Linked DNA regions of Homo sapiens: region 1 is linked to region 2. Evidence: promoter capture Hi-C in human tissues and cell types (Jung and others, 2019). All regions are on one chromosome and are shown on one strand. Each heading gives the region's core, a stretch centred on a gene start or on the middle of the fragment in contact. The rest is flanking DNA. Distances are from core to core; before and after follow the strand shown. Region 1 overlaps ZNF780B (zinc finger protein 780B). Region 2 holds the start of TTC9B (tetratricopeptide repeat domain 9B).

Region 1 (4,494 bases), core at 575-3,074, 170 kb before region 2:
TGTATGTTAGTACAATTTCTAAAAAAAATTGTCTACAAGTCTTCAACTAATTTCTTGTATGCATTAATGATGGTCATATTTCTACATCCGAATTCAAAAATAAAAATAAAACAGAGTTAACAGAGAGTGAGTACTTTTAATCATAAAAAACAAAAAACTGTGCCTGTCATGAGGATCAAAAAGATTAATGTGACTATAACAAATAACATCAGCTAGTTCTGACATCCTTTAGCTGTATCTCACCAATATAATTAGACATTTTCATTATCAAGACTCTTCTCTGAATGAACACAATGCAGATAAGTGGCATCTGGAAACTACATGAGAAAATCTGTGGAATGTACATCACCATGCTTGGTTCCCTTCTTCACCAAATAACTCATTAAAATATCATTTTGGATACAATTCCTACAGAATGCCTTACAAAAACCCTATCTTAGTATATGGGATTCATATACATGTAACATTTTCTTGAGTATCATTGTTCATAGCATGAATACTGCTTAATGGTATATCAAATATTTTTCTTTTCATAATTCTTTATAGACATCATTTTATTAGCTGCATAATACTTTATCACTTGAGTCTAGTATAATTTGCTTAGTGATTTCCATATTACAGGACACTTGATTTATATAAGATCATTTACAGTGTCATTCCAGGTATCACAATCTTTTGATTCTAGACTAAGGTTTTTCACCCTAGGCACTAATGACATATTGTGCTGTATAATCCTTTGTTGGGGCTATAGGGAGGGTTATCCTGTGCACGGTACAATGTTCAGCAGTATCCCTGACCTCTATCCACTAGATCTAAGTAGCACCTCCCCCATGGTGTGACAACCAAAAGTTTTTAAACATCACCCCCGCTGAGAATCAATGTTCTATCTAGATCAATGGATCCAAACCTCATGGGTCACATACAGTTTTGATAGTCTTATGAAATGATATACTATTTCTCCCTCTAAAACCCACATTGATAAATTTCCATAGTACTTCAATACATTATTTCAAGAGCTTTGTGGTCCCCAAGACCATACGTGGAGTTACAAGAACTCAGATTAAGAATTTCAGTCCTACATTCTTGACAAAAATAGAAAAAAAAAAATCCTAAAATGTGCATAGAACCACAAAAGACCCAAATAGCCAAAGCAGTCTGGAGCAAAAAGAACAAAGTTGGAGGCATCAAACTACCTGACTTCAATATATACTACAAAGCTATAGTAACCAAAACAGCATGATACTGACATAAAAACAGACACCTAGACAAACGGAACAGAATAGAGAGCCCCAGAATAAATCCATATGTTTACAACCAACTGATTTTTGAGACAGGTGCCAAGAACATACAATAAGGAAAAGACAGTCTCTTCAATACATACTGTTGTGAAAACTGGGGAGTCATACACAGAAGAATGAAATTAGACCCTTTTCTCAAACCATTATACAAAAATCAACTCTAAATGGATTAAAGATTTAAATGTAAGATCCCAAACTATGAAACAAATAGAAAAAAACGTACGGGGAAAGCTTCATGACATTGATCTGGGCAATAATTTTTTTTTCTAGAAATGACTTCAAAAGCACAGGCAATAAAAGCAAACATAGACAAATGAAATTACATCAAGCTAAAAAAGCTTCTGCACAGCAAAGTGAAGAGACTACCTACAGAATGAGAGAAAATATTTGCAGTCATGTATCTAATAAGGGGTTAATATCCAAAACGTGTGAGGAACTCAACAGCAAGAAAACAACCCAATTAAAAAATGGGCAAAGGACCTGATAAACACATCTCAAAAGACGACATATAAATGGCTACAGTATATGAAAAAATACTCAACATTACTAATCATCAGGGAAATGAAAATTAAACCTACAATAAGATATCACCTCATATGTGTTGGGGTGGCTATTGAAAAGACATAAGTTAACAAATGTTGGTGAGAATGTAGAGAAATGTGAACCATTGCACACTGTTGGTGAGAATGTAAAGTGACACAGACATTATGGAAAACAGCATGGAGGTTCCTCAAAAAATTAGAAATAGAACCACCATATGATCCAGCAATCTACTACTGGATATTTATCCAAAGGAAATGAAATCTGTATACCAAAGAGACACCTGCACACCCATGTTTATTGCAGCACTATTCACAATAGCCAAGATATGGAATCAATCTAACTGTCTATCAATGAATGGATAAAGAAAATGTGGTATATATGCAGGTATATATACACAATGGAAAACTAGCCATAAAAAAAGGGAAATGCTGTCATTCGCAACAACATGGATGAACCTGGAGAAATTCATATTAAGTAAGCCAAGCACAGAAAGGCAGATGATCTCACTCATCAGTGGAATCTGAAAAATGTTCATATAGGCCAGGTGCGGTGGCTCACACTTGTAATCCCAGCACTTTCGAAAGCGGAGGCGAAGGCCGAGGCAGGCGGATCACCTAAGGTCCAGAGTTCGAGACCACCCTGGCCAACATGGCAAAACCCTGTCTCTACTAAAAATACAAAAATAAGCTGGGTGTGGTGGCATGCACCTGTAGTCCCAGCTACTCGGAAGGCTGGGGCAGGAGAATTACTTGAACCCGGGAGGCAGAGGTTGCAGTGAACCGAGATCACGCCACTGCACTCCAGCCTGGGCAACAGAGTAAGACACTCTCTCTCAAAAAAAGAAAACACTTGATATCATAGAATTAGAGAAGAGAATGGTGTTTACAGGTCGGGGGTAATGTGGGTGAGGGAGGGAAGATGGTGTTGGCTGGGGAAATGTTGGTCAAAGGATATAAAATTTCAGGAAGATAAGAGAAATAAGCTCAAGAAATCTATTACACAACAACGTATCTACTATTAATAACTACTATTAATAACTATTCTGTAGTGCTAAGAGAGTGGATATTAAGTGTTCTCACCACAAAAATGATAACTATGTGAGGTAATGCATTGCTAATTAGCTAGATTTAGTCATTCCACAATGTACATATACTATAAAACATCATGTTGCACACGATAAATACATACAATTTTATCTGTCAATTTAAAAAGAACTTCTGTCCTAGATCATTTGAGCAACTCACTCATTTTCTTACTATGCAAGCAGCAATCACAATGAATCACATATTCCCAATGCTCCTGTCCTATAGAAAGTCAAGGGAAATGACCTAAAATGACCACACGAAAACAAAAGCTAAAACATTAAACATTTATTATTATATGCCTAGCACTGCTCTAAGAGGTTTTAGAGTATTAATTCATTCTAATGTTCATTACAAGCCTGAGAAGACCAGAAACGGACAGAACAAACATTCCAACCCAGATACTCTGGATCCACTCCCCTATTCTTAACCGCAACAGCGTACTGCCTCTCACAGTTCACACAAATAGCCCAAAATGCAACCGGAACTGCCGAATCTCACAGAGATCTGGCAAGTATTACAATTATCATCTCATGGACTCTCCCGAAAAATCCTGACTCTGGTTGATACCAATTTCTGTGCAATCACTTTCCGATTCCTGAAAGCCTCACAGACGAATGGAAATCACCCAACCATCTCCATTCTTCCCTACTTGGAAAAGGAGGCCTGTAAAGAGTCAGAAACCTGGCGTGTGATTCCACAAACTAATCTTCTTTTCAAAGCAGAGTCTAAAATAAAGCTTTAATATAAACCTCTGGAGGACTATTTTTATACCAGCTTAGAAGAAGAGAGCGTACAGGAAGGTGTGAACGATTTGCCAAATGGCTCTGTGAATATTAAATGGCAAGGTGGGGAGCGGGCGGGGTGGGGAACGGCTCGCTGGGAGGCGGCACAATGGGAGGGGGCAAGAATCAATTTGCATATTCTCCTGAAATTCACTAAAAATTTACAGGAACCTCTATATTCTAAAATCAAAAACGCATTTCTTGAACAAATACAAAGCACAAACTCACCCTTGACTTAAGTGTGCAACAATAACGCTCTCATCCTCCTCTCGGTCCTTCTTTTGGATAATAATACGACTGGAGAAGGATACGGCAAGCGTGAGACTCCAGGCTTTTCTTGGAGCGCAGACTAAGTTTGAAAGCACCCTCCATGGCCACAACTTCCCTCACTTCGTACGAAATGAGAAGGAAATAAAAGGAGGAGGAATCGGTCTGAGTTCGAAGCTGGTTCCTGGGGACAGATCTCTGAGGGACGCTGGGTTCTCAACATGTAGCTGCCCTCCTGGGGGACCCTCAAGAGGCACTTCCAGCTCTCATATTCCCACCCCGAGTCCAGATCTGCGCCTTCTTGTGCAAAGCTTCATTCTCGGTTCAATATCTAACCTCCCTACTGGGGACATTTTCATTCCTCTGCTGCAGCCTCTGCAGCTTTGAAGGGGAAAGACGGAGGAAGCAGCAGGAGCCTAGTACCACCGGCACAGTGACACTCACACAGCCCCAGCAAAACGCACTGCGTCCACACGCCGTCCCGGTCCTGTGCACAGGGCCTCACGCACACACTCACAC
Region 2 (4,298 bases), core at 205-2,704:
GGTAGATGAGAAATGGCCGGGGAGATGTCAGAGGAGCGATAGGTGGACGGATGTTTGAATGGCGGGTGAAGGGCGGGGTGGATGAATGGATGAGTGGGCGTGTAGGGAGTAGGTGGGTGGCGCAGCCCTACCTAGAAGCAGCTCCGCGGGAGGAGGGCTCTGCTATTCTGCCCTGATCTTCCTGCCTGTTCCCTCCGCTGCAGCCCCTTTCCCCGCCCTGGGCCCAGCCCTCACCTCTGCCCCGCCCCGCCACTCACCTGTGGGTTCCCGGCTGCGGGCCTCCTGCAGGTAGCGCAGCGCGCGTGCGTAGTCGCCCAGGTGGTAGAAGGCAATGCCGGCACGGTAGGTGGCCTTGAAGTTGCCCTGCTGCTTCTCCAGTACCTTGAGACAGTACTCGCGCACGCGCTCGTAGTTTACCAGCTCCGACTGCAGCAGGCAAGCTGCGAGGGCCCCGCGGCCGGCACTCTCAGAGCCTGCTGGCACCCCCAGAACCCACCTGACTGCGAGGAGCCGAGGCTCCAGGCGGCAGGGAACCAGGCCTAAGGGATTGCTCCGGCAACCAGGGGCGCCAATCCGCTCGCCTATCGAAACAGGCGCAACTGCGCCGCTGCTAGGGGGCGCCAAAACACGGACAGGCGCCACTGGGCGATCCACCCAGAGCTGTCGGTGGGCAAGAGCACTAAGGCCCCGCGCGGGGGCGAGGGCCGGGACCTCGAGAGCCTGGCTCAGGGCAGACTTCCTCACCTTGGGTCCACGTGCGGCCAGGGGGTGGAAAGAATGACTCAGGGGAAGCGAGGCCCTGAATACCCGACCCAAAGACCATTTCCTGCATCCCAGCTCCCTCCAGCCACAGACCCCTGTCATCCCCTACCCCTAATCCCTTTCCTTGATCAAGCTCTGAAGGCTCCCCCAGAAGCCCACAGCCCTGGACCCTTCAGCCCCAGGGCCCCTGGCCCCCAAGTCGCCAAGCTCTCCCGATTGCCCCCTCCCCTCGTGCCCCATCCCCCCACCCCCCGACGGCGTACCCGTGAGGGAGTCGTAACACTCCACCTCCGTGCTCTCCACCAGGCGCCGCTGCTCCTCGCTGAGGCGCGCCGGCCCGGGGCTGCTGGTGGGCCCGGGGGCGGGGGCGGGCAGGCCGCTAGGGCGGGCCCCCTGCGCCGCCTTCAGCTGCAGCAGCGCTCGGTGGTACTTGCCGATGGCCTCCCGGAACTTCTTCTCTCGATAGCAGCGCTGGCCCTCTGCCTTGAACGCCACGGCGGCACGCAGGCTGCTGTCGAGCGCCGCGCCCAGGCTCCCCGACGGCTCTGGGGTAGGACCGGGACGAGCCGAGCCATGGCGGGAGCCCGAGCCTGGGCCCGAGCCCGGTGGGGAGAGGGCGGGAGGCGGGCGCGGCGGAGGCTCCGGGGCAGCGCTGAGCATCAGCACCGGGGACAGCGCGCCGCGCTGCATTGTGGGAAACTCCTGCCGCCGCCGCTGCAGCTACCGCATCGCCCCCCGCGGGGCTGGTCCCCACCCTTTCTCCGCCCCCTCACCTCCGGCAGCCGACTCCGGCTGCCCCCTATGGGTCTAGGGAAACCCCTCGAGACTTCCCCCATGCTCACTCTCAAATTAACCAAGTCCTAGTTCTCCAGCCCGCCCCCCGAATTGTTCCCATTCCCCTTACCCTCCCCAACCTCCTGCCTGCTCTCCTCCCCGGTGCCCAAAGCTCCCGAAGATTTCTAGAAGGAAAGGACGAGCCTGGGGGAAAGAGCAGGAAGACATCAGCCTCACGGAAAGCTGGCTCTCAGCCCACTGGCCATTTGGCATATCGAATGAGAACACAGGATTTGGACCCAAGCTTCCCAAATTCAAATCCCTGCTTACTTTCTCACTAGTGGTATGACTTAGACAGCTCGCTTAAACTACCTGGAACTCTGTATCCTCATCAGTAACATGGCACAATAATATCACCTTTAGGGCCAGTCGAGGTGGCTCACGCCTGTAATCCCAGCACTTTGGGAGGTCGAGGTGGATGGATCGCTTGAGGTCAGAAGTTTGAGACCAGCCTGGCCAATATGGCAAAACTCCGTCTCTACTAATATACAATATATACAAAATTTTTGTATATATACACAAAAATTAGCCTGGTGTGGTGGCGTGCACCTGTAGTCCCAGCTACTCGGGAGACTGAGGCAGGAGAATCACTTGAACCTGGGAGGCAGAGGTTGCAGTGAGCCGAGATTGTGCCACTGCACTCCAGCCTGGGTGACAGAGGGAGATGCCGTCTCAAAAAAGGAAAGGAAAGGAAAGGAAAGGAAAGGAAAGGAAAGGAAAGGAAAGGAAAGGAAAGGAAAGGAAAGGGGAAAGGGGAAAGAGGAAAGAGAAAAAAGGAAAGGAAAGGAATTAAAAATAATACCACCTTTGGGATTCATCTGTTAATTTATGAAACAAATATTCACTGACATCCTTTCTGTGCCCAGCTCTGTGCTGGATGATGCTGGGACATAGCAGACACTGCGTGAGCTTCAGACCCTACTCTCACTGGGCCCCAGTTCAGTGGGAAGACAGACCAGTGACCAGACAGTGACAGCCCTGAGCAGGCTAGCCTGGGAAGCACAGGCAGAGGGGTCGGGGCCGAGGTGGAAGAGGCACAGGCAGAGGGGTCGGGGCTGGGATGTGGGAGGTACCTGCCCTGGGCTGAGGTGGTGATAAAGTCTTCCTGGAGGAGGGAATAACTCTAAAAACAAGAGAGATCTCCTTCTTGCCCTCATCCAGCTCGGCTGTCTATGGGGGAAAACAAGTGAGAGGGCAAACAAGTCCCCAGGAAAGGAAGCATGCAGGAGGCTTTCAAGAAAAAAATCGAGGATGAATGAGTCAACTGCCCTTCAGTCCTCCTTTGCCGCCTCCTTAGCTGTGGGACCTGGGCCAAGTTCCTCGATCCTCCTCCTTCGGCTTCGTCTGTGCGACATGAGGATAGAAGGCAAGTTAACCTCAGAGCGGTTGCAGAGACTGAATTATCTTATGCAGGTAAGGCACTTAGCACAGGGCTTCATACATTAATGGGCAATTAACAACTGGTGTTTCTTATCGTCCATTAGACTCTGAGTCATGTGATCATGAGTGCCTGGCTCTGAGTCAGCATCCATATATAGTTGTTGAATGAATGAGTGTGTGAGTGAATGGCATTATGCATTACTACTCCTCCCCCTCCTCTGAGACTCTAGCTTGGGTCTCAGCCCCAGGCCTCCCCACTCTCCCCAACTCCACCCCCACAGCACATCCTCTAGCTGGAGGTCCCATGGCAGGTCACATGTGACAGACAGAAACCAGAACTCAGCACCTTCCATCTCAACCAGAGCATCTGCCTCTATCTCTTATTGTACTTTGCTGTAAAACGCTTTTGCTGAGTGAGTTTCTCCCTTATCCCTGGGGTCCAGCCTTGAACACCTCAGGGGTGCAAACATTTTCCTCTCTGCATCTCCAAACCCAGGCTCAGTTAGGAGTGTAAAACTCATGAATTTGAGTTCTTGAGCAGTGCACACACCTTTCCCTACCTCCGGTGTGTCTGTTTTGTAATGAAAAACACAGAGATCTGGCTGGGCGCAGTGACTCACACCTGTAATCCCAGGACTTTGGAAGGCCGGGGCAAGTGGATCACCTGAATTCAGGAGTTCGAGACCAGCCTGGGCAACATGGCAAAACCTTGTCTCTACCAAAAATACAAAAAATTAGCCAGGGGTGGTGGCGTGCACCACTTGGAAGGCTGAGGCGGGAGGATTGCTTGAACCCAAGAGGTGGAAGTTGCAGTGAGCTGAGATCACACCACTGCACTCCAACCTGAATGATGACAGAGTGAGACCCTGTCTCAAAAAAAAAAATAAAAAAAAAAGGAGATCCGTTGATTCATAACCATGTTTTCTGACGAAGTAAATGCCTAGGTACCCAGGCACAGTAGCACAGGACAACTGTACCTAAAATCACAGTCCTGCTGGGATGCAATGCTAACACTTTTACAACACCTCCTAGGTGTCAGACATTGTCATAAAGAGCTTTCCCTTTTATTTATTTTTTATTATTTATTTTGAGATGGAGTCTTGCACTGTCGCCGGGGCTGGAGTGCAATGACGTGACCTCGGCTCACGGCAACATCCACCTTCCGGGTTCAAGCGATTTTCTTGCATCAGCCTCCTGAGTAGCTCGGATTATAGAAGCCCGCCACCACACCCAGCTAATTTGTTGCATTTTTAGTAGAGACGGGGTTTCACTATGTTGACCAGGCCGGTCCCAAACTCCTGACCTCGTGATCCGCCCGCCTC

Evidence for each region. The method cuts DNA at HindIII sites, captures the fragments that hold promoters and counts their contacts. A contact is called where the count stands out against the background at its distance.
Region 1: a fragment that was not itself captured here is called in contact with the fragment with the promoter of TTC9B in region 2 in 1 of the 25 tissues and cell types used here (bladder).

Annotation. Positions count from the first base shown.
Region 1 is chr19:40,051,480-40,055,973 of GRCh38, forward strand. All of the region lies in intron 1 of ZNF780B (zinc finger protein 780B), which reads right to left. Among named protein-coding and RNA genes, the nearest start is that of ZNF780B, 2.5 kb to the right of the region's middle. The HindIII fragment of the contact is 4,300 bases long and covers 1-3,974 here.
Region 2 is chr19:40,216,930-40,221,227 of GRCh38, forward strand. TTC9B (tetratricopeptide repeat domain 9B) reads right to left here and starts at 1,455. Exons shown (of 3, transcript NM_152479.6): 1 at 1,026-1,455; 2 at 258-440. The coding sequence starts at 1,452. RefSeq lists enhancers at 323-913, 2,492-3,691. The HindIII fragment of the contact is 9,592 bases long and covers 1-4,298 here.